Regions from separate parts of the Homo sapiens genome. Here all the other regions are linked to region 2. The links are contacts of gene promoters, found by promoter capture Hi-C in blood cells and fetal thymus (Javierre and others, 2016). All regions are on one chromosome and are shown on one strand. Each heading gives the region's core, a stretch centred on a gene start or on the middle of the fragment in contact. The rest is flanking DNA. Distances are from core to core; before and after follow the strand shown.

Region 1 (4,003 bases), core at 833-3,332, 560 kb before region 2:
TCCAGCATATGCACTGATTTGATAACTCACTCCATACCTTTTCCTTCTTAGAGAAGGAAGATGATGATAGAAGCCCCGATCAGGGATGTTGGATTCTGGTGTTGGAGGACCAAGTATTAGGTATGATATGACAAAGTATTAAAATAGAAGCTCAAAACTCAAAACCCTAGACAAACAGAGAGACAAGACCTCCTGCAGGAAGTATCCATTCCTACTTACCTCCAGACCACTGGAGTCATGGGTAACATGACCATTCCTAATTTGCCCTGGACAGTTTCAGTTAACACTAATTGTTCAGGTAAAATTATTGATAGACCCTTCTCTCACTCTCAGAAGTGTGCCAATTTGTACATTACAGTAAATGTGCCCTCTAGTCATAGGAGAACTTATGCTCAGTATTACCTGGTCTCTCAATTTTTTAAGCCAGGAATTTGGATTTTTATAGAACATTTCTGAATTTTTTAATGTGGACAATAAATTCCAAATTTTTAAAATTGTCCAGGCCAAATAAAAATCATGAGAGGTGGAATCTGGCCTGAGAGCTGCCAGTCTGTCATCTGTAAGTTAGAAACTCTAGCTGATACCACAGTGTTCTTTGCCTTCCCTCTTTGGAGACCTTAGCTCTCATGGGCTGTTGAGAGAGGGTCTTAGGGGGCTCCCACAGGGGAAAGCCTTCTGCTTTAGGCAGTTCCAGTGGTAATCAGGGAAGGGTCCAGGAGACAACAGGCCTGATAGGGGCAGTTTAGGCCAGTTGTTCAAGGCCTTAGTAATGATTATAACTAGCGCTTCCTATGTAGTAAGGTCTTACATAGATTATCTTATTTACTCTTCACAATCACCTATAAGGAAGATATTATGATCTCCATTGCTCTAACGAGGAAATTGAGACTTAAAGAGACTAATTAATATGAACAAGTTCACCCAGCTAGTAAGTGGCAAAACCAGGGATCTGAACTCATGTCAGACTTGACTCAAAAAACCCACATCTTTATCCTCTGTGTCTGCTGCTTCCCACTGTAGAGAGATCAAGTTTTTCTTTCCCTTGTGGTGTTTTTCATTTGGGTGAGTCATTTTTGAGCTCTTGTCACCATGGAAAATCATAAAGTCTTGACTCTGAGTCTGCAAGAAGATATTTTCTTGCTTTCATTCAGGTATGTAGAACACAGGCCAAGTGGTTCAGCCCAAATCTCTAGAACAAGGGTGGGTGGGGACAGGCAGTGGGGTTTAGGGCCAAATTCCCAAGTAGTCATAAGGAGTGTTCTTTTACTAGGTGTCTGTCCCTTTTGCCTAGATTCCTTGGAACTCTGCCAGTGATGGGCAGCTGGTCAAAGATTTGAGATTTCACAATTCCAGTCATCTCTGTGACCTGTATCCATTTTAGAAATACAAGTAATGAATATACCTCATCCAACAGAGACTAGGAAAAGCATAGAATTTTTGTTCTAGTATTAATTTGACCAAAGATTGGACATGTTGTAGTGGATCAAATAATGTCCCCATAAAATGCATGTCTTCCCAGAACTTTAGGATGTAAGCTTGTTTGGAAATAGGGTCTTTGCAGATATAATTAGTTCTAATGAGGTCATAGTGGATTAGGGTGGGACTTAATCCAGTGACTGTTGTCCGTACAAGAAGAGAAAACAGAGACACAAGGGGAAGATACCTGTATAAAGGAAGAGGTAGAAATTGGAGCAATGTACCTGTAAGCCGAGGAACACCAAGGATTGCCGGCAACCATCAGAAACTAGGGAGAAGCAACGAGGGATTCATCTCTAGGGACTACAGAGGCAGCATGGGCCTGCCTTGCCTCCAGAACTGTGAGAGAATCCATTTCTGTTGTTTTAAGTGATGCAAGTTTGTGGTAGTTTGTTAAAGCAGCCACAGGAAACTAATACACATGATAAAGAAAAAAATTTAAATACTAAAATGCCCTTTCAAGATGGAACAGGAATCTGTGTTGGAAGTTTAAATTTCAAAGCTCCCAAGTCAAAAGTTCAGAGAGCATTTTCTGACTCACTGTTGGCCGAAGAATGAACTTTTCAGAGAGGAAAAGTGTCCTCCCTGCATAATGCAAAAGTCTCTACGGAGTTTCTGTAGAGGACCAGAGGCATTCCATGTGTTGATTCAAAATGGCTTAGTTCTGATCTAATCTTGAGCAAGACTTGCTTGTGTTTAGGAAGTCCATCTACCAATGTCTACCACCATTTGCCACGTCATCACAAGCCTAAAATCTGTTATGCCTGGGATGAGCCATGGACATTCGAGTGTGCATTATATGGTAGCCTTTTCCCATTTTCTGCCATGTTTGCCCTGTCTATCTGAGGGGCTTCTGGCTCAGTTTCCCTTTTGAGACTACGATTCTGACAACCAAACCAGCTTTCGTTTCTCTAAAGACAGATCCCTTCCTTTCTCTTACCCCCAGAGGGGCCCTGCCTCAAATCTGATGGACTCTCTGCATTGCAGAGGGATTTCTTACACTTTCAATTTTGGAATGCCCATAGCAACTCTGAAGAAAGCTGGTCACAAGCTCCTATATCCCATCCTCAGCTGATTCAATCAAATTTGGGTATCTGGTCCAAGAGCAGCTCGTCTGTAGGCCTGTCAGTGTTCTATGGAGTAATCTGGCAAGGAAGCTTTACTTAATGAAGGAAAGAATAATCAATAGCACTAATAGGACCTTCTGTCTTGGAGAGTTTAAATAGAATGCTTTGTAGGGGTATGGGGGACTTGCTGTTGGTAGTAGGTAGAGAGATTGGAAAGACACACAGAAAAAGAAACCATGTGATAGCAGGCGCCATTAGTGAGCTGAGGCCATGAGACAAAGAAAAATGAAGGAAGTTGGCTGGTAGTGGCAGGAATAGTCAAACAGAGACAAGAACAGCTGCATCATCATAAAAGTGGCAGAGCATTAAGGCAGCTGATGCTGGTGTCTGAGGGCCCACAGGATAACTCAAACTGCATTGTGTTCTAAAGCAGCTTCTATCTTATAAATTATGTTCTGGTCTCTGTGAGGCATAGCTGTGCAGCTGTTGAGTGTTTCCTGACTTCCTTACAACCTCCTGTGTATCCCTGCAATGCCACCTTCCTAATTCTGCACCCCCATTAACTAAGGTAAATGTGTCTCTGTTCTTGAAACATTAAAAAACCAGGCCATGAAACCACCATCTCCACTACCGAATTCCATCAGATTGGACTTTTTGGAAACTATCCAGAGATTCTGAATGTACACTCTCCTCTTAGACATCAACACTTGGAAAGTCCCTTACTATTGCTTGGCCAGACCTTCTTACCTCAGCTCTGTAGCTTCCCCTTTTCCAGTTCACCTGCTGCAGAAGCTCAGACATGCTTTATAAATCAAGGCACATAGGTTATTATAACACTGATCTCATTTAATGTAATTTCATCTCCATAATTGAACATAATGAAGTAATAAACACTTATTTGTGTTTACTATCACAAGTTTGGGTCTCATTTGGCTTTACTGTGTTATGCGTGCAGGTCAAGTGTAGCTACATCTCAACAAAATTAAGACGATTTTGTAGTTTAGAAGTAAGGTTAAGATTTGGAGTCTTGAAATGATCCTATGCCTAGAAAACTCCATAGTCTTGACCTGAACGCTCCTTAAGCTGATAAATAATTTCAGCTGTCTCAGGATACAAAATCAACATACAAAAATTACTAGCATTTCTATTCGCCAACAACAGTCAAGCTGAGAACCAAATCAGGAACGCAATTCCATTCACAATTGCCACAAAAATAATAAAATACCTAAGAATACAGCTAACAAGGGAGGTGAAAGTTCTCTACAAGGAGAACTACAAAACACTGCTCAAAGAAATCAGAGATGACACAGACAAATGGAAAAACATCTCATGCTCATGGATAAGAAGAATCAAAATCATTAAAAAGGCCATATTGCCTAAAGTGATTTATAGATTCAATGCTATTCTTATCAAACTACTGATAATGTTCTTCACAACTAGAAAAAGCTATTTTAAACTTC
Region 2 (3,806 bases), core at 277-2,776:
TTTTCAATCTGAAGGTTTTTTTCTACCTTGAAATTTATCTCCATTATATCTTCAAATATTTCCCCTTCTCTGTTTTTATATTTCTTCCTTTCTGTTCTAGTTTTACCCTAGATATAAGCTAGAAAATTTACAAATAAGCTAACTTGTTTTTTAAAACATTTTCTACTGCCTCTGGAGGTTTGCTGAAAGTGCTCTTCCAATTACTAATTCATCGTCAGCTGCATCTTTTAGACTATTGCACATTACTAATACGTAGCATCAATATTCATTCTAATTATTATTTTTATGCTTAATATGTTTTAGTTTCATATTTTTTCCTGATTCATATTGCTAATATCATAACTCATTTTAAATAAATTTATCATGCTTATTTAAAAATCTTGGTCCATCTGCTCTACTGATCAGTTTCAGATGGCATATGTTATTCAGTTGTGGTCTTTTAACAGTAGTTGCACTCCTCCAGTGTCTAATTCTTTGTCCTATGAATTCATGTTCCCCTGGGGTTTCACCTACTCTGTCTGATAAACATGCATCCAGGAAGGCCCAGTGAGTTTGCAGTGGGAGGGTGGTGTGAGCCCAGAAGGAAATCGCTGGCACCAGAGAACCACTGTCTATCATTCCCAGTTTCTCCCACTTACCCAGATCTTTCCTCCAGTCAGGTTTCTACCCTTAGGGAGAAGCAGCACCTAAAGGAAGCAATTAACCTAGCAACCCTAAGGGTGGCAGGGGGAAGGGTAGAGGCTTGATTGAGAGGAGGTGGGGGGAGGTCGGCCTGCAGTTTTTTTTGTTTTTCGTTTTTTAAATTCCTCACCCCAACAGTGCTTTTGCGCTGGTCTGACACTACCTGGAAAACTATGCCACCAGTCGCTTCAGTGGACACTACCATTTCAATTGCGAAGTCAGGCAATGATTGTCCTAAGGCAAGGTGGGAGAGAAGTCAGAGTAAACCACCTCGAGAGCGCCGGTCTCCCGGAGTGTCTGGGTTCGACTCCTGCCTCCACAACTTACTGGGTCTCCTCGAACAAGTTGCATCACCAATGGCCGTGCCTCAGTTTCCCTCCTCCGTAGATTAGGAATAACAATAGCAGTGAGAACAGAATCCAGCACACAGTAAATGCTGCTTACCTGTTTGCTATGTGGAATACGCCACTACACTGTTGCTCGGCCCTCAGGAAGGGTCTGCTGAGACTTTCTACTTCCTGCTCAGGGCAGAGGCCGACCACCCGCCCAAGGTCGTGGCGGCGCCGGCTCAGCTTTAGTCGTCAAAGTGCACATCCTGGGAGCCGCTGCCTCGAGGTGGTTGAGGCGAGAGGGCAGGGAAGCGTCTGAGCCTCTTCCTCCCACCAGAGCAGGACCCCAGCTGACAGCGGGTGAGCTGGGCAGAAACCCATGCCGGGAAGAGGCGGACCCAGTGGACCGCAGCGCCCGCAGTCGCCGGGCCAGGCGCAGAGGCGAACGGGAGGCGGCGCTGCACCGTGCCCGCCCCTCCCCGGCCCGGCCCCGGCTCCAGCCCCAGCCCCAGCCCCAGCCCCGGCCCCGGCCCCGGCTCGCGGGCGCTGCGTCTCCGCGTACAGGAGGCGGCGGCGGCTCCCAGTCACCGGCCCCCGCCGGCGAGCGCACGATGCACTGCCTGGGCGCCGAGTACCTGGTAAGCGCTCGCAGCCTCGGCCCTCGGGGGAGGAGCCCCGGGGAAGGGTCGAGTCCCCCGCCTTCACGCACCTTCCCTGCCGGACGCTTCCGCCTTTCCCGCGCCTCGGGGATCCCGCCCCCGCTTAGTACCTTGGGGCCACCTGGCGGGGAGGAACCTGGACCCTGCTCCAGTGCTGGGGCGGAGGCGGGGGAGACGCGGGCCGCGGGGCGCAAACTTGGGGTCGTCCTCAGGTGCACCTCCAGGTAAGCACTTGGCGGCAGGGGGCTTAACATCCGCTCCGCGCAGAGCAGGTGTTTCAAAGGCTGTGTGAAAGAGCTTCAGGTGGCCACGTAAAAAAATAATATTAATTTTAAAAATTTAGAAAAAGATTGGTTACTTTGGCCCCTCTTCGAGTAGATTTGGGTTCGGTTTCCAGGTTGAGTCCACCTGTTTATCTTCTTTTTCTCAACTCTCCCTTTTTCTGGAAGGTTTCTGCAGAAGGAGCCCCTAGGCAAAGGGAGTGGCGACCCCAGATTTATAGGAAATGCACAGATACGGCATGGTTATTCCTGTTCTTTCTCTTTTGGACTGGTTTGGTAAGTGTGGGTGCTTGGTAGGAAAGAGGCCAGAGTGTGTGTGCACGTCTGGAAATAACTCTGTCCCAAATGTAAATCGTAGTTGGTGCTGCAGTGAGAGACTTCTGCCGTTAACCCACAATAAACATCAGTTTGTACTCGGGAGAATTCTTGTCCTAGACTCGCTAGAAAGGCTGTCTTTTTGCTACAGGCCATGTTCTAAGGGGTGACTCCATTAGGAAATGGGAATTAACAGTTTGCAATGTGATTGCTATTTAGTAAGGCCAATGTGTCTCCTTTTACTCTCCGAACTTACTGAACAGAAGTTCTTTTAGCACCTGCCACACCCCCAAATCAAATATTCCTCAAGCTTTTGGTGCACCTTTAACAAAGGAAAAGCCAGGGTAAGCCTAGAAATAAACTGCATTTCCTTTAGCTGAACATCACACACACACGCGCGCGAGAGATATGTTGTGTTTAGCAGCCAACACTGTTAACCATAGCTAACAAGGAATGATTTTTCCCACTCTAATTTCGAGGTATGTATGATTGCTGGTAAACTCCATCAGGCTATGCGGTTATAATCCTGAGAGAGTCTGTTGGAAGCCGAATCTTGCTGCTTTTATACTTATTTTAGAATTGTAGGTAACAGCAGAAAACGTCTCACCCGACATTTTCAAAGGCCACTTTCACGAAATCATCCATGCCAGGATAAGGCATGCTATTTGCTGCATGGTAAATGATTAATTTATAGAGCAGGGTAATAACTACCAGATAGTAATTACCTTTGTTGAAAAGAATTCCATCTGAATAGGCCCTAAAATATCATGTTTGTTCTTTCCAAGTAAGAAAGGCATTTGTTCACTTATGACCCGTTTCACATAGACAGGCTTGGTTACAGGCACAGTGGAAGGTTAGGTCTGAAACACATAATCAGATGTTTTTTGTTGCTTACGTTGGAACTCTCCCCTAGGAGCTGGGAGAGACAGTGCACCTACAATACCTTCTGCTTAACTTCGCAGATGGTTGGTGTTTTTATCTGAGACTGCTGTTGTATAAATGCAGGGAGCAGCTGGCCTGCCTTGTGCCTGGCAGCTTTGACCTCAAGCTGTTATTGTGATTTAATGATCTGCCGTAGCCCCTCCACAGCTTCAACCTAGGACCTCACTACCAAACTCTCAGCCCAACAGCTGAGAATCCTGGGGAAAATCTTTGTAGATGACCTATCACAGCCTGAAGAATTGTGAACCAGCTGAGAGGTGGCACGGAGCTGGAAACTGCTTTAAAATTACATTTCATTTGCAAAATAAGTCTGAAGTTTTAATATATCCAAGTTCTCACTATGGCATTCTGTTTTAAGAGTCAGAGTCCTTTCTTAGCTCACTGGCTTTTAGTGTCTTTTGCAACATTTTTTATTTGCAGGTATTTAAAACAGAGCAAGGAGTGTTTTGTTTTTGGACTTTTTTTTCTGCCTCTGTTGTTCAGCTTTCAGGTCTTGTGACAGATGTCCTGACTGGTGATGGTGTGCCCTGAGTTAGGGCTGGACAAAGGCTTGGGGGAAGGAGCTGAAATTATAAGCAGAGATGGTTCTTGCAAATGCA
Region 3 (3,719 bases), core at 894-3,393, 740 kb before region 2:
CAAAAGAAACTATCATTAGCGTGAACAGGCAACCTGCAGAATGAGAGAAAATTTTTGTAATCTACCCATCTGACAAATGGGTATCTATCATCTCATGCCAGTCAGAATGGTGATTATTAAAATGTCAAGAAACAATAGATGCTGGTGAGGCTGTTGAGAAATAGGAAGGCTTTTACACTGTTGGTGGGAATGTAAATTAGTTCAACCATTGTGGAAGATAGTGTGATTCCTCAAGGATCTAGAACCAGAAATACAATTTGACCAGGCAATCCCATTACTGGGTATATAACCAAAGGAATATAAATCATTCTACTATAAAAATACATGCACATGTATGTTTACAATTGCAAAGACATGGAACCAATCCAAATGCCCATCAGTGATAGGCTGGATAAGGAAAATATGGTACATATACACCATAGAATACTATGCAGCCATAAAAAGGAATGAGATCATGTCCTTTGCAGGGACATGGAAGAAGCTGGAAGCCATCATCCTCAGCAAACTAACACAGGAACAGAAAACTAAACACCACATGTTCTCACTTGTAAGTGGAAGCTGAACAATGAGAACACATGGACACAGGGAGGGGAACATCACACACCGGAGCCTGTTGGGGTGGGGTAGGGGCGAGGCGAGGGAGAGCATTAGGACAAATAGCTAATGCATGTGGGGCTTAAAACCTAGATGATGGGTTGACAAGTGCAGCAAACCACCATGGCACACATATACCTATGTAACAAACCTACACATTCTGCACTTGTATCCCAGAACTTAAGGTAAAATAAAGAAAGAAAATCTAAAAATTAAAAAAAAAATCCTGTTTTATAAAATGCATTCAAGGTCATTCTTATCTTCAGACAAGTTGGTGATCGCTTAGTAGTTGCCTGCAGTTTGGTGCTGCTGTCATGACTGGCACCTTCTGAAAGGCCACTGGGGAGCCTCGGCTGCCACTTCCAGAGTTTGGAGAGCGAGGGTCACACACTCTGGAAAATTGTGGTGGCACCAGGGCAACAGAAAGTCCTCAAGAGCACCAGGTGACAGATAGAACGAGGCTTTTCTTCACTAGTTTGTTATCCTCAGGACTCACAAGTCTGAGACAAGAGGGCATGCTCCCGAGGGCCCTCGAGTTTATTCCCTCTCCTACTGCTCACAGAAGCCCCTACCTTCCAACAGTTCTAGATGACACAGACCCAGACCTGGCCCATGGGCAAGAGTGGTCCACCCTTAGATGGAGTCATTTACTGGGAGTATGAGGTTGAGAATTTGAAAATGACTGACATGTGCTCCCTGATTCTAAATAACTCCAGTTTAGCTGCCCAGCCAGAGATGGACATGTCAACAGCCAACTCTAATCTATCTGGGAGAGGGGTCTGAGAGAGGTGTGAAGAGAGGGCCAGGAAGCACAGAGGAGTGAATGACTAAACCTCCATCAAAGCAGAAGTGACATTTAAGAGCTGAGTGCTGAGTCTCAAAGAATGAATGAGTAGAAGCTCAGCAGATGAGGAAAGGGACAGTCATTTCAGGCATTGGTGGACATACACTTTTCTACCTTGTGTTTCTTCTTTTGGGGAAACATCTTCCTCCACTTCACAGTAATCCTGCTCATAGAAATGGCCCCATGGTGGGCAGCTGACCCAGGCCTCCCAATCAGAGTACACAGGGGTGGGTACAGGAGCCAGACCAACAGGGAAACTCTCTAGGAGCATTGCTTCTGCTATGGGAAAGGGATTTTTGGTGTATAGATGACTGCTAAGGGCTGTAAGCAGCTAGGGCATCAGCAGAGGAGAGGGCCTGGCCAGAGATGAAGCTGAGCAGAGGCGAGTAGAAAAGTGAGGTGGAAGGACACAGGGGTCTCATGGTGGCTTCCAACTCTTGGATCCTCCTGAACTTCATTATTTATGTCCACCAATAAATGCTTTCTTTTTGGTTAAGCAAAAAGCTTGTGACCAAAAGCGCTCTAATAAATGGGCAATGAAAACAGCATTTGCAAAGGGTAGAATCCCAAGAGGTCATGGAATGGGAATGCCTGTAGGCGTGAAAGGGCCAGGTAGCAGAGTTGAGCAAGGGCTGGGAAGGTGGGGTAGGACAGATTTGGAAGGGACCTGTGTTATTTGGGGGTCGAGTCATTAAGATTTTAAGTGAGAGAGCAACGTAAGCAGGTGTGCGGAATGTAACTCTGGTGCCAGTGTAGAGAAATGCCTGGGCCAACAGAGGCTGGACCCTGGATTCCAGGAAGGAAGCCCTTGGAATGGGCTGGCGCAGAGATGACAAGGCCTCTAGTCCTCAGAGAGCCTGGAATGCAAGAGGCAGAGTTGAGAGATATTTAGGAGGGAGAGGAGACAAAGCTTGGTAAGAGAAATCAGAAAGGCAGGCTCTGAACTCAGGCACCCCCAGAGCTGGATCCTGTTCGCTCCTCTTAATGGTCATGCGTGGGATCTTATTTAACCTCTTTAAGCCCTGGCTTCTCATCTGCAAATTGGCAATGATAATGGTGCAAGCCTCATGGAGCTGTGAGAATTAAATGAAGCATATGTGTGTAAAAGCAGTTGGCACAGTACTTGGCATAAAGTAACACTCAGTAAGTGACAGCTACTGTGTGGAGGGTGAAGAAGGAAAATTAGGGATGACCCTGAAATCCCTCACTTGAGAATTCGGGCAAATGCTGAGGACGTTAATTAGGATAGGAAATATAGGAGAAGGATATGTTCTATGGGCAAGGAGAACATACAGTTTTTGGAGGGGACATGTTGAGGCTGATGTGCTTGTAGAACTTGAGGGCAGGAGTGTCCAGCAAGCAATGGACTGTGGGGTTGAGGGGACACTGGCCATAGATGGCCACTCAAGCAATGTCAGACAGAAGAGGGTTGAGGACAGACACAGATGCTTAAAGGGGGCTACAGGAGGAGGTGCCCAGCATGAGAAGTAGGAGATGTGAAGAGGAAACCGTTTTCAGCATAGATAAGTTTTAAGTATGGATAAGCTGTTAGAGAATGAGAACTGTACAGGGGATGTAGGGATTCTTGTTTCTTCAGTGGGGAAAATGAAAGCTTAAATTCAAGACCACTTGACTTGCTAAGGGAGCTCTGGCCCCACTCATGGGGCTATCTTCAAGGGGCCCACTGTGGGGCTTGCAGCCCCTTACCTCCAGGTATTGATTGACCAGGCGGAGGGTGCGATCAGTGATGTTAAATATGTCCCTCCAGTCGAAGTTGGCCATGTCGTCAGCCTGGCTTTCCCGAGGGCCCTTGTAGAGGAAGTTTAGGATGGCTTCAGCAGTAATACCTTCTTCACCAAGCTGCCTATTCAAAAAGTCTTTTACTGTTGGGTTCCCCAGGGTATCCTTGGGAAGAAGAAATACAGTCACTGCTCTGCTTAGAAATTCCATAGGATCTTTGGTCTTGTTCTTCAGCCATTTCTAATTTTTAGTGATTGAGGATAGAGATGCTAAGGCTCCCTGAAGAGCTGGTGAGCTTGTTCCACTATGAAACATACCTATCTATATCCCATTTCCCCAAGTCCATGGGTCTCTAGAATAGAGGGAAGATGTGTAGGGGCAAAGGAGGGGCCAGATGGGGGTCATTGAATATGGTGTATAAAAAGCTTTCTTTTGCTTATGGATATTTTTGTTTTCTTTTGAGTGTCCCTGATATATAGAACTCTTGTCTTCATTTTGCAAAGCTGAAAATGAGACCAGACAAACACATTCCACCATCTTT
Region 4 (4,118 bases), core at 1,092-3,591, 580 kb before region 2:
AGCAACATATAATTTTTTTTAAATACTTGTGTTTTTACCATTTATATTACTATTGCCTCTAGTATTTTTTCCTTCTCAAACAGAAATTCACATCCTCTATGACACTGTTCAAGTCAGCCATTCGGTGCAGCCTTAACTTTTATATTCCCCAAATCTTCCTCATGTGTTCTCTTCAAAATGTTTGTGGTACCAGACTGCACAGATTAGTATTCTTTCTATCTGCAGTGGTGACATTACCAGTACTGTTAATTTTACTTCATCTTCCTGAAGACAATTCTGTAGTTTAGGTAGCCTACTTTTCATAGCAGAACATGGGTCTAAAAACATTTGACAATATCTGGAGACATTTTTTGTTGTCATAACTGGGGAGGGGGATTCTACTGACATCTAGTGGGCAGAGGACAGGGATACTGCTAAACTTCCTACATGCATAGGACTACCCTCATCCCCAAGAAAGAATTATCCTGCCCAAAAGGTCAATAGTGTCAAGGTGAAACACCCTGTTCTATATCCAATTACCACTTTATAAAAAACTATAAGACCTAAGAACTTGTTAAATTATGCCACAGTATATACCCAGAAAAATCTGGACTGTGGGCCATTTTATAGCATAAACGTGATTTCTTCAACAAATAAACTGCAGGAAAAAAGATGGAAAGAAAAATCTCTAGATTATCCTTAAAAGATATATCAAATGCAGCCAGGTGCGGTGGCTCACGCCTGTAATCCCAGCACGTTGGGAGGCCGAGGCGGGCGGATCACCTGAGGTCAGGAGTTTGAGACCAGCTTGGCTAATATGGTGAAACCCCATTTCTACTAAAAATACAAAAAATTAGCCGGGCGTGGTGGCGTGCACATGTAATCCCAGCTACTCGGGAGGCTAAGGCAGTAGAATCGCTTGAACCTGGGAGGTAGAGGTTGCAGTGAGCCAAGATCACACCACTGCACTCCAGCTTGGGCAACAAGAGCAAAACTCCGTCTCAAAAAATAGTAATTTTATATATAATTATATATATATCTTATATATATAATTATATATGATATATATAATTTATATATGTAATTATATATGATATATAATTTATATATAATATATATTTATATATATATATATAAAATCAAATGGAGGAATAAATAAAAACAGACATACTCTTCCCTGTAGTAAACAACTAGAAAAATGGACAAAATATATATTGTTTTCAGACACCGAACTACACACCGCACTGGGCTCAGGGCTGTCATCTCTGAGAGATGGGATCATAAACAAATGAGGTAAGCCCCACAATTACCCCAACTTTCTGCCTAAAGTCACATTCTTGACCATAGCACCCTTGACAACTTGAAGAGACAGAGATCATGGTTCCAGGAGATTGGAGTTGCCAGAATCTGTAGGACAGAGTACCAGAGACTAAGGATGTAGAAAAAGAAAGAGCTCCAGAAATTTGCATAGGGAATTTCTTAATTATCTTGCTGAACACCAAGATGCACATGTATACAGCAAAACACAACAAGGATTGGCAAATAATTTCCAGAAAGCTATAGATGGACGATTCCCAGGTTTCCCACAGGGCTGGAAGAACTCCACATTTTCATCAGCCAGAGTAGAGAGACCTACTGAACACCCCAGGGAGACCCCAGGGCATGCCTCATAGTACATCTAACCTAGCTTTAGTGAAAACTATACTCTAGCCACACCCCAACAAAGCTTCAAAACAGGCACATTTTATAATTTTTTTAAAAGCTGATGTTTAAAACAAAGTAGTAACAATATGTTGTGGCATTTATAACATATACAGAAGCAAAATCTATGACAATAGCGTAAAGGAGGAGGAAATGAAAGTATACAGTAAGGTTCTTACATTATAGGTAAAGTAGTGTAATACTATTTGAAGGTATACTGTAAGTTAAAAATATATACTAAAATCTCCAGAGATAAAGTTAATTAAGCCAATAGTGGGCATAAATAGAATTTCAAAAAATCAAAAAAAAAAAAAAGGCAGGACAAGAAGAAAAAGGAAACAACAAATGGAACAAATAAAAAAACAAACAGCAAAGTAACAGACTTAAACCCAATCATACCAATAATTACATTAAATATAAATAATATAAACAGCCCAATAAAAAGGCAGAGATTCTCAGAGTGAGTAAAAAAGTAAGACCCAACTATATTTTTCCTATTAAAACACAGACTTGAAATATAATGACACAGATACATGGAAAGTAAAACAACAGAAAAAGACACACCATGCAAATATTAATCATAAGAAAGCCAAAGTAGCTCTATAATATAGGTATCAAAGAATTTTACCAAGGATAAAAAGCAACATTTCATAATGATAAGTGAGTCATTTCATCATAATGACAACAATCCTGAAGGTATCTGTACCAAAAATAGAGGTCCAGAGTATGAGAAAAAAACTGAGAGAAATGTATGGAAAAAATAGACAAATCCCCAATGACAGTTAAGATTTCAGCACTCTTCTCTCAGTAATTGATAGAATAACAGAAAATCATTAAGGATCATTAAGGACATAGAATACTTGAATAGCACTATCAATCAACTTGACCTGATAGACATTTACAGAAAATTCCACCAAAAAACAGCAGAATATGCATTCATTTCAAATGTATATGGAATATTCATAAGATAGGCCATATATGGGATAAAAAGAAGTCCCAATGAACTTAAGAGGACTGAAATCACACAGTGTATGTCCTCTGATCAAAACAAAATTAAATTTGAAACTAGTAACAGAAAGATAGTCAGGAAATCCCCAAATATTTGTAAATTATAAAATATAACTTTAAAATAACCAATGGGTCAAATTTCCACAAGGGAAATTTTAATATATTTTGAACTGAATGAAAATGAAAACCCATTTCAAAATGTGGAGATTACAAAGTAAAAGTCATGGTTAGATAAAATACACAGTTTTAGATGCTTTATTGTAAAAGAGAAGGGTCTAAAGTCAATATCTAAGCTTCCACTTTAAGAAGCTAGAAAACAAAGAGCAAATTATACCCAAAGTAAGCAGAAGGAAGTAAATAATGATAAGAACAGAAATCAGTGATTTAGAAAACAGAAAACAGAAAAAAATCAATATAACCAAAAGCTGGTTCTTTGAAAAGATTAAATTGATAAATATCTAGCTAGGCTGATCGAGAAATAGAGAAAACACAAATCACTAATATGAATGGAAGAAACGACATCAGTACAGACCCTACAGACACAAGGATAAAAGGATACAAGGGAATGTTACAAAAAACTTTGCCAATAAACTTAACAACTCAGATGAAATGGAAAAATTCTTTGAAAGACACAGATTACTAACCCTGACACAAGAAACAGAAAATGTTAATAGCACTACATGTATTAAATAACTGAATTCATTATTTAAAATTTCCCACAAAGAAAACTACATCTACATGAGCTTCACTGATAAAATTCACTGAACCAGATAAAATAATCCTATACAAACTCTTGGAAAATACAGGAGACAAGAACACTTCCCAACTCATTCTATGAGGCCAGCATTACCCTGATACCAAAACCAGACAAAGACATTACCAAAAAAAAAAACCACACACAAAAAAAACAAAAACACACACAAAAAACAAATTTCTTAACACAGTATTAGCAAGTCAAATCCAACAATATATAAAAAGGATAATACATAATGCCCAAGAAGGGTCTGTCCAAGGAATGCAAGCTTAGTTTAACATTCACTAGAAAAAAACCATGTGATCATCTCAAAAGATGCAGAAAAAGCATCTGACAAAATTCCATGGCCATTCATGATTAAAACAGTCAACAACGTAGGAATAGAAGATAATTTCTTCTATCTGATAAAGGGCATCTACAAAAAAAACCGACAGGTTTTCTCCTTAAGATCAGGATTAATATTGTTACTGAGGGTCTTAGCCAGTACAGTAAGACAAGAGAAAGAAATAAAATGCATTCACATTTAAAAAGAAAGAAGTAAAATACTCAGAGATGGTGGGTTGGGGACTTAAAAAAAAATCTTAAGAAGCCTATAAGCTACTACATCTAATAAATGAATATAGCAAGGTCACAGAATACAAAGTTAATACACTATAATCAATTTTATTTCTATACA
Region 5 (3,129 bases), core at 1-2,500, 810 kb before region 2:
CTTCCACCACCATGGCAAACAGGTTCTTCCCAATCAGGTCCCAGTGGAACGGATTTGCAGAGTGCTCCTCACCTGGGCATCAACAGGAATTGAGTCCACTTCAGCCGCCCCAGCTCACCCCACAGACCTGGCCACAGCACAGGGCCCACTAGACCAGGCCTTATGTGGGAACTGAGCAAGAGCCAAACACCCGCCTCATAAGGGCTGCCCTCCATCCCTCCTGTGGCTCCCCAGCCATGGAAACAGAGGCACCCTAATCCTCTCCAGCTGGCAGGACACCTCCAGCCCAACAAGGTCCCCTCCTAGCACCAGCCCCTGCCACAGTCTGATGCAGGAGCCCCCCCGGTAACCCTCCCAGCTTTGGACCCAGGGCCCATGCTCCATGGGCCTCGGCTACCACCCACCAAACCGGGCATAGACATCTGTCACAGCCTGGCTCAGTGCAAGGTCAATGAGGCCCCGGCCCAGGCAGAAGTGGGGGAAGACAATGAGCAGCTTCCTCAGCACGGCGTTGAACCTGAGCAGCGTCTGAAACAGAGAAGTAGGACTGTTGGAAACGGGGCAAACCCCACCCCCCCTCTCTTCAGCAGGTGGGGCCCAGATGCTCTCACAGGACAGCACAGGGCAAGGCCTGCAGACAGAGAGTCCTTGCAGCCAGACTGGCCACTGGAGGGATTTGTCCAGCAGAGCATCATGGGTTTGCAATGGAGGTCATGAAGTACTTACAAGCAGTGCCTCAAGGCCAGGCCAAGGAGCTAATCAATTAAATGACCAATCAAGGACTGGGGCTCCCTGCAAGTTTCTAGTGGGCGGGAGCTTCCCCTTTGTCTAGCCAGGCAGCATCTTCTAAACATTTACTATGCTCAGTACCATGTGGGCACCGAGGCTAACTGTGAGGAACCTGCATTACTGTCCTTACCCCTCCCCTAGGTGACTCTGGGGGTGACAGCAGGAATGTGCAGAGAAGCTGCAGCCCTCCTGCTGTCCACTTAGGGAGCTCTCCCTGCAGACTCACTTTGAAACAACAGGAGCCCTCAAGGCATTTGTTAACACCAGGCCCTGAGCCATCTCCAGCTCTGCTTTTCAGCCCCTCACAGGGCAACTACCATTGTCTAGGGAGAGGAGGGTTGGAGACTCTCTCTGGGGTCTGTGTTAAGCCAGGGACTTGTTTTCAAGTGGTCGGACTTGGCATGTTGGGCAGAGCCTCCCCTGAGAAAATAGAAGGGACATCGAGGCGTACGAGGCCAGCATAGCTCCTGGCTGGGCCACTGCTGTCCATTCCATCTGGCTCCTCCCAGTCCCACAACCTCCTCCCTCTCCAGCCTCCACACCTGCGCCCACATTACCTCATCCTTCCCTGCCTACCCTTTCTCCCCACTCTTTCTGGAATCACTGTGCTCTTTGGCCTCTAGGCCTGGGCATGTGCAGGCTGTTACCTATTGCTCCAAGCAGGAAAGAATGCTCTTTTCCCTTCTGCTTTCTTAAAGATTCCTGTTCTTCTTTAGACAGCTGGCTCAGAGAGTGCCTTCCCTTACAAGCCTTCCAAGATTCCCATGAGAAAGTATCCATTCCTCTCTCCCAGCACTTATCACATTCCCATGATTAATTTTTTAAAAATCTGCCTACTTTCTCTACTAGTCAGTGGGCCCCTGGAGGGTGGGCACTGAGTCCTAATTATTTTTTTGTCCTTCCTAAATACCTGCACAATGATTAGCTCAGAGTAGGCACTTCATTATTTATTAAATGGGCTAATAGAAATCTACAGGCTGAAATTGAACTTCCTCCACCACGGCTCCCCCAGCCCCTGCAGCCTGGCTCTTCCCGCTGCCTCTGGCCTGCAGCATGTTATCTGCCTCGCTCCTCTGCTGCTCTGTCACACGCTGTATTATGGAGGATCATACACTGTGGCTTATATCGTTGCAAACTTCGTGGGCAGGTCCTTTTCCGACTGGAACGGGAGCCTCTGGAGGGCAGGACGAGTGGGCCACGCTTGTTTATATCAGCACACACCCGGCACGTGGTGTTCAGCTGGTAAAGACCTCCTGATCTCACACGGGCCGGCAGCTGCTGGGAGCTGGGGAGCTTCCTGTGGGATACTGGGGGTTTCCATAGCAGCTGTGTATCGGATAATTTACATGAAAATACCAGGTTTTTGAAGGCGGGTGCTTAGCAAATGTTGGCTAAATGGGTGCAGCCTCAGAGGGGAAAATGTTCTGAGTTGCTTTAAGCTGGCTATTTAATTATTCTGAAGGAAAACTGTCTTAAGACTTAGTGGGCTGTGAGCCTGTGGCAAACACAGCTCTGCAAAGCAGCACTTTCAGTCACCTGGGTGCTCTGGCCATCTGCTGGGGCTGTGTTCTTATCCCCCCGCCTTTCCAGAGTCTGACTCTGACATGCTGAATTTCTTATCATTCATGGGACAGATGAGGCTTCGTTACTTGCCTAGCAGCCACGAAACCCTAACAAGATCTGGAAAGAGTCAGTCTCAGGGGTCCACGGGTCTGGGCGGTTCATGGTGGGGCCTCCGCACAGATTTGTCCTGTGTTCCCCAGTGGGGCCCAGAGGCAGGTGGAGGTGGGTGTGGCAGGGCAGCAGTGCAGATGTGCTGGCCGGTCCCACCCTCTGAACTGGGAAGAGCTAATGAGGAGAGGAAAGGTTGAGGCGCCTGGGGACACAGGCACGTGGTGAGGCAAATGTTCCAAGGACAGCCACAGCCAGGACTCAGACACAGCGGTGGGGACTGGGAGTGTGGAGTGTGGAGTAAAGACAGCCCTGCAGCGACTGCCTTCTTTTTTTCCCCCTCTTTTTATGATTCAGTTTGGCCATCTGTCTCTGGACAGGGGGAGGTCAGGTGGAAGGGACAACTGGGCTTGGCAGCTCATAAAAGTGAGGCATTCAGCATGGAGAACACCCAGTCTCTTCATCAAGATTAACTTGCCCAAGGAATAGTATATGTCAGAGTGTTACAATTTCCATAAGAAAGCGGGAGAAAGACCGTATAGGGATCTGCTGATGTGTCTCCAGAGCACACAGGAAACTCAAGTAAGAGTTTGCCTCTGGAGAAGAGAACTGCATGAGTGGGAAACAGGGGTAGGAAGGAGATTTTTTCATTGTATGCCTTTTTGTTCC
Region 6 (2,700 bases), core at 201-2,700, 790 kb before region 2:
GCATTGCTTATAATGGTGAAAACTAAAAAACCTAAGTGGCGAATAATGGGAGATCAGTTAATTTAAAGTAACTTTAGGCCAGGAGCAGTGGCTGACGCTTGTAATCCTAGCACTCTGGTAGGCAGAAGTGGGTAGATCACTTGAGGCCAGGAGTTCAACACCAGCCTGGCCAACATGGTAAAACCCCATCTGTACTAAAACTACCAAAAAAATTAGGCGGGCATGATGGTGCATGCCTGTAATCCCCACTACTCGGGGGGGCTGAGGCACAAGAATTGAACCTGGGAGGCAGAGGTTGCAGTGAGCCGAGATCACACCGCTGCACTCCAACCTGGGTGACAGAGAGAGACTCTGTCTCAAAAAAAAAAAAAAAAAAAAAAAAGAAATTCAAACAATGGGATAATATACAGATATTAAAAGTGATGCAGATGTCTATTTATTGACATGGATGCATGTTCCTAGTAAATTATGCAGTAAATCAGATTTTAAGACAATATTTGGAATATAATCTGTTTGGGTGGCTGCAAACCAAACATTATCTGTGTTTATATCCAAGCGATGATTTTTTTTCCTTCTGACTTACCTGTGTTTTCTAATTTTTCTATAATGAGCACATATGACTTAATTTTTTTTAGTGCTTAAACACATTTTTTCTACTAGATCAAATAGGAAGTATCTGGTGGAAAATGAAGCTTTTGGTGAGTGGCTTCCTCCAGTTGGCAGCCACAGCGCCCTGTGGGGAGCCCCTCCCAGAGGGTGCAGGGAGTTTGGTTTAGTCCCCTACTCAACTGCCAGTTTGAAATGTTAGTTTGTGAGAGACTCAGGAGATACCAGGGACTCCCCTAGTCCCTCTGTGGCAGGCAGACCTGGGGCCCCGTTGTTTGGAGGTCAGGTACCTGGGGGGGCGGGAGGCCCCCGGCACCCTCGGGGCACTCTGGCAGCATGGTGAGCTTCTCCCTGGTGCTGCACCTGCAGGATGGTGAAGGGTTGACCTGTGTCCATTTCTGCTTCTGGAACAGCTGGGTGATGTTTGGGGACACAGAAGGAGTCTTCCAGGGTGTTGAGTTGCCACAGGGGTACTCCCTCATGGAAGACAAGAAAATATTCCATAATCAGCCTCAAAGTTGCTGACAAATCCCTAGGCATAAGAAATTGTGCCCAACCCTTTCCTCCTCCTCTTTAGACCCAGGCCCTTTCTTCTTATTCTCTTGGAGGCTGGTTTCTGCTCAAGCAATATCAAAACTAGGGTTTTGTGACTGACTAGGTGTGGGGCTGGGGAATAACCATCTCTAGCTTGTGGATCGTTTTGTCTCCCTTTTTATTCCTAGCAGCTCTAGCTGTTGAGAGACACAGCAACCAGAAGAGGAATTTGAAATTAGTCTGTTTTGGTCCTTATTGACAGCTTTGAAAAAGACTGAGGGAGAAAAGTTAAAATTATATTGAACTTTTAGGATTCCTGGTGGATGTCAATGGCCTTCGCTAACTCCCTTCTCCAGACTCACAACTATCACAAAGTACTGGCCACTGTGTCACTCACGCCATTCAAGGCCCAATCACACAATAGCATAACCCTATTTCCCTCCCTCCCTGCTCAGAGGCCTTTCAAATAAGTTATGGGGAATCATCTGTCAACTCAACATAGAACTTCTATGCTGAGAAATATAGAGCTGTCCAGTGGTGTGGGGGCTTCCTAGGAGGTAGTGAATGTCCCTGCACACAAGTGTGGAAGGAGAGGTTGGGGGAGTGCTGGTCAGAGACATGGAAGTGACCAGCAGAGCAGGATTGAGTGGGGCCTCCCCAACGCCTGCCATCTTGAACCCACCGTTGGGTCCTCCCAGGGGAGCTAGTCTTCTTAGGACAGGGGCGCGTAGGCACTTACGGAAGCCACCCTTCCTTCAGGCAGCGGTTGCCAAAGCCTGGCTTATTCAGGAGGACGTCTGCAAGTACCGTGAACTGCTCACTGCCTGGTTCATCCATGCTAGACAGAGTGAGACATGTGACTGGGACAGAGCAGGCGCGTGCCAACATCATGCAACTCAGAGCCTTTACTGGATAGCTGCTGTGTGCCAGGTATGTATTGGAGGCACCGAATGCTGCCTTGGGATGGCGCTAGCTCTCCTGGGAGTGCGGTAGGCTGCCTGAACACTCGCAGTGGTCTGATGGCATGTCACCTATGCCTCAAAAAGATGGCGCTTCAACCCATTCACCTAAGCTTTGCATTCCTTTCCCCATTCGGCCTTCCCAAGCAGTCCTGCCTGTCCACTAGGATCGCCTTTCCAAGCAGTGGCAGATACATTAAGTTCCTTTCTGCAGGCAGCCCAAAGACCCCTCCCCTCTCTCATTGGTGAAGGTCCCAGTGAAGTGGGAAGGTCAGGGCCCTTCTAAGCAGCATGTGACCCAGGTGCCCCAAACCCACAGAGGAGAATGGTGACCCCGAGTCCGCGCACCTGAAGAAGGTGTACTGCTGCCCATATATCCAGGGGTGAAGGGTCAAAGCGGGGTATTCGCCAAAAGGAGGGATAACAATAGAAAGCATCAGAGCCAAAAACACAAAGGTAGCCGGGAGCACGATCTGTGGGAGAATAGACGTGGAATAAACATGACTGTGGCATGGAGATGTCACACGTGCGCGTGCACACACATCTTCATTCTTTTAAACATTTATCCTGCAGCCTCCTAATCAGCCCCTGGTGGAGAGGG
Region 7 (3,205 bases), core at 696-3,195, 770 kb before region 2:
CTCCCAGGTTTTCCAATAGGTGGGTAGGGCAGTCCACGCTTCCTCATCACCATCCCTCAAACCCCACTCCCCTCCTTCTTCCTCCCATGCCCCCTCCAGTGCAGACCCTCACCGAGTGCTCTCACTTCTCCCTGACCTCCCATCTATCCCTGCTTCATTTCACCCTATATGGCACAGCTTAATTTGTCATCTTAATACTGTAGCTCTAAGCATTTCTTTCCCTAGGGGGAAAAAGTCCACTGTTTCTTCTATCCGTGCCTCCTGGCCTTGCCTGCAACTGAGGTGGAACCAGTCCCCAGCCTCCTGATTTGGCTTAGACTTTCCACTGTGGGAGGAGGATCTTGCCAGAGGCATGGTGTACTGCAGTCTAACTCTGGGAGGGGCTGCAGGTCTCTGGCTTTAGTTTTATGAAATGGCCCCTGGGGTGGGCTGGAGGGATAAAGGCCAGACCCTCTCCTGCCCTGTCAGGCAGAGCCCAGGGGCTGTGCTGCCTGTCTAAACCCAGAGCATTTTGGCCACAGAGAAATGCGTATGCTTAGGGAATGAAAAGCCTTGGGAGAAATACAGAACTAGTTTAAGAGAGAAGATGAGGGCAGCAAAAGCCAGGAAAACAAAACTTGTAAATCTGGGTCGTCAGTTTAGGGATTATTAGGTAACTTCCACTGTCAGGAAAGGCTTCTGATGGTTTCAATGAATGGCCTTCTAGATTTGTAAGCCGTAAGTGAAGTGTAGTCAGCTCCCCTGGAGTCTCTTTCCCCCTGGACACAGAAGCATTTATTTTTGTCTTTCCTTATAGCTCATATCCGCTTTAAGTCCCAGTGACCAAAGTTATTGTTCTTGCTAAATCCTCGGAAGTCAGCACATTTGTGCAACTCACTTGGGATTTGCCTAACAAGGGCACAGGCACACTACATAGTTGGTATTTGCTTTCTCCAGGAAATATGCGCTAATGTCTGGGCTGAACCATTCATTCCACACACATGCAGATGGACCTCTGAGAAGGGATCTGGTTTAACACTTGTCCACAGAGAGAGTCAGTTTCCTAGGCTTCTTTCCACCCTTGCCATGAGATGTTTTGCTCTGGCCCTCTGCAGTGCTTAGAGCCTTTTCCTCGCCTCTGCTGTGTATTCTTTATCGGGGTTTTACCGTGTATTCCTTCTGGGTGCTCTGGATCCTCCGTTTCCTCTGTTAGGGGCTCGGTCTTTTCCAGGGCTCTTTCTTCTCTGGTTGAACACCCTGCACCAATCAGAAGCCAGTGTTACTCTACCACCGGGAGCTGAGAACGAGCAAAGGCAGGAAAGGAGGGGAGAGGTACAGGGAGCAAATGAGTTTCCTAGCCAGCCTTTGACCTGCTCTAGGACTGTGAGGTACTCAAGCCTGATCACACAATCTTTGCCAGAGGAAGATTTATAACAGGAGCTTCAGACTTGGAGAGTTTCACCTCCTCCTCTCAATGTGCCATGAGGAGCCCACAGTTTCAGAAACTGTGATTTTAAAAAAATTAAGAAAACCAGGTTTGAATTTGAAATGAGTTAATTTTCTTTAGCCCACCACTGGCACATTTTACTCCAATACAAAACATGTGAAAGTCATGGTGAACCTTGAGTAAAAGTCTATTCAGGGGCCGGATGTGGTGGCTCACGCCTGTAATCCCAGCACTTTGGGAGGCCAATGTAGGCGTATCATGAGGTCAGGAGTTCGAGACCAGTCTGACCAACATGGTGAAACCCCGTATCTACTAAAAATACAAAAATTAGCCGGGTGGGGTGGCGCTCACCTGTAATCCCAGCTACTTAGGAGGCTGAGGCAGGAGAATCGCTTGAACCCGGGAGGCGGAGGTTGCAGTGAGCCGAGATAGTGCCACTGCACTCCAGCCTGGCCGACAGAGTGAGACTCTGTCTCAAAAAACAAAAACAAAAACAAAGTCTATTCAAAGTGCTATGACGGGCAGCCAGCTTAAACTACAGCTTGAATATATGGTTTACCTGAGAAATTCACCTAGATGGGCATTTAAGTATCTTGGAATTAACACCAGGGTTGAGCCTGGTGATGGTATTAATACAAGCCTGGACAAATTGTGAAGTGTGGTATAAACACACGCATTGAACACACACACACACACACACACAAACAGACACTTTTTGGCAAACTTGGCATTTGGTTTAAAAAGATATCAGGACATCCTGGAAGGGGAAGAGGAGCAGAAGGGCCAGTCAGTCTGCCAGAGAGGAAGGCAGGGGCAGGAGGAAACCACTGTCACCAGGCATCCAAGGGCTCTCGGCCTCAAGTGCACATACAGGAGCAGGGCGAGATTTCTCAATGCAACAGCCACCCAGGGCCCCTCTGTCCCCCACCCTCTGAAAATGTGCAGGATGTGTGCTGGAGCAGCAGGTAGTGGGCCTGCTGGTCAGGGACCTGCTGCCTCTAGTACTGTTCTTCTATTTCTGCTTCCTGAAGGACTTTTGAATCTATGCCCCACAGTTCCTTTGATCACTTTACTAGCTATCAAACTGCACAAATAGGTAATGAAATAGCAAGAGGAAACATCCTCCTGAAGAGTTTAATCACTGGAATGAGTTCCTGCCAGGCAATGCATGTGCATGTTCCAGATTTTGTCCCAGGTGACCAATAGGGGAAGATACTGGATGTCTCCTGGGCTCCATTTTTTATTTTTTAATCTGTGAAAGGAGGGAGGTTGGGTGGAGACACTCAGCTCTTTTCTGGTTTTAGAGAGTTTTAGAAATCCATTTCAGTCCAGCCTATGAGACAGGTGAAAAATATTTGCCTTCCGTTGGCAAACATATTTGTGATTCACTTTTGAAGGAGCATATTTTCCTTATGATTTCTTTTTTTCTTAAGAGGCAGAGTATCTGTTGGGATTGTAGAGAAAAATAAAATGCCCACAAGCCCTGTGTTGAAATTTTTCATTTATTATATGATAATTTTATTATAGTAAAAAATTAACAAGTTTACAGGTAGACAAGTCAATACAATGAAAAAATCCTGAGCTGTTAAAGTGTTGTTTGTTTGACCCAGTGAAAACAAAAGCAAAAAACAAAAGAAAAAAAGAAAAAAAAAGACTAATCCCCCAGAGAAAACAAACATCCATCTCAGTGCTTGCAGGATAAGTCCTGGCCCAGGCCCAATAATACAAAGTAAAGAATAGGTAGGTGAGCAACAAACAGATGGGAGAGTACTTCAGCTC

What was found. Contacts are between HindIII fragments. The CHiCAGO score rates a contact against its expected background, and 5 or more counts as called.
Region 1: a contact is called between a fragment that was not itself captured here and the fragment with the promoter of SLC44A3 in region 2, in 1 of 17 cell types (fetal thymus). The highest score is 5.0, in fetal thymus.
Region 3: a contact is called between a fragment that was not itself captured here and the fragment with the promoter of SLC44A3 in region 2, in 1 of 17 cell types (fetal thymus). The highest score is 5.2, in fetal thymus.
Region 4: a fragment that was not itself captured here is called in contact with the fragment with the promoter of SLC44A3 in region 2 in 1 of 17 cell types (fetal thymus); the score reaches 5.1 in fetal thymus.
Region 5: a contact is called between a fragment that was not itself captured here and the fragment with the promoter of SLC44A3 in region 2, in 2 of 17 cell types (fetal thymus and total B cells). The highest score is 6.9, in fetal thymus.
Region 6: a contact is called between a fragment that was not itself captured here and the fragment with the promoter of SLC44A3 in region 2, in 3 of 17 cell types (fetal thymus, total CD4 T cells and total B cells). The highest score is 7.4, in fetal thymus.
Region 7: a contact is called between a fragment that was not itself captured here and the fragment with the promoter of SLC44A3 in region 2, in 8 of 17 cell types (naive B cells, erythroblasts, monocytes and 5 more). The highest score is 10.8, in naive B cells.

Annotation. Positions count from the first base shown.
Region 1 is chr1:94,257,910-94,261,912 of GRCh38, forward strand. All of the region lies in intron 2 of ARHGAP29-AS1 (ARHGAP29 antisense RNA 1), which reads left to right. It also overlaps a transcript of ARHGAP29 not described here. Among named protein-coding and RNA genes, the nearest start is that of ARHGAP29-AS1, 12 kb to the left of the region's middle. The HindIII fragment of the contact is 1,098 bases long and covers 1,534-2,631 here.
Region 2 is chr1:94,818,831-94,822,636 of GRCh38, forward strand. SLC44A3 (solute carrier family 44 member 3) reads left to right here and starts at 1,527. Exons shown (of 15, transcript NM_001114106.3): 1 at 1,527-1,648; 2 at 2,119-2,226. The coding sequence starts at 1,622. It overlaps SLC44A3-AS1 (SLC44A3 antisense RNA 1), which reads right to left and starts at 1,402. Exons shown (of 6, transcript NR_160780.1): 1 at 1,126-1,402. RefSeq lists a silencer at 1,531-1,720. The HindIII fragment of the contact is 9,215 bases long and covers 1-2,573 here.
Region 3 is chr1:94,074,545-94,078,263 of GRCh38, forward strand. ABCA4 (ATP binding cassette subfamily A member 4) reads right to left here. Exons shown (of 50, transcript NM_000350.3): 11 at 3,146-3,343. The region is part of intron 1 of LOC124904222 (a long non-coding RNA gene); the gene reads left to right. Among named protein-coding and RNA genes, the nearest start is that of ABCA4, 45 kb to the right of the region's middle. The HindIII fragment of the contact is 406 bases long and covers 1,941-2,346 here.
Region 4 is chr1:94,240,636-94,244,753 of GRCh38, forward strand. It overlaps a transcript of ARHGAP29 not described here. Among named protein-coding and RNA genes, the nearest start is that of ARHGAP29, 5.1 kb to the left of the region's middle. The HindIII fragment of the contact is 1,276 bases long and covers 1,704-2,979 here.
Region 5 is chr1:94,010,858-94,013,986 of GRCh38, forward strand. ABCA4 (ATP binding cassette subfamily A member 4) reads right to left here. Exons shown (of 50, transcript NM_000350.3): 39 at 405-528; 40 at 1-72. Among named protein-coding and RNA genes, the nearest start is that of GCLM, 100 kb to the left of the region's middle. RefSeq lists an enhancer at 454-953. The HindIII fragment of the contact is 3,950 bases long and covers 1-3,129 here.
Region 6 is chr1:94,028,549-94,031,248 of GRCh38, forward strand. ABCA4 (ATP binding cassette subfamily A member 4) reads right to left here. Exons shown (of 50, transcript NM_000350.3): 28 at 2,448-2,572; 29 at 1,880-1,978; 30 at 897-1,083. Among named protein-coding and RNA genes, the nearest start is that of ABCA4, 91 kb to the right of the region's middle. The HindIII fragment of the contact is 1,520 bases long and covers 691-2,210 here.
Region 7 is chr1:94,047,722-94,050,926 of GRCh38, forward strand. ABCA4 (ATP binding cassette subfamily A member 4) reads right to left here. Exons shown (of 50, transcript NM_000350.3): 18 at 1,147-1,236. Among named protein-coding and RNA genes, the nearest start is that of ABCA4, 72 kb to the right of the region's middle. The HindIII fragment of the contact is 5,773 bases long and covers 1-3,205 here.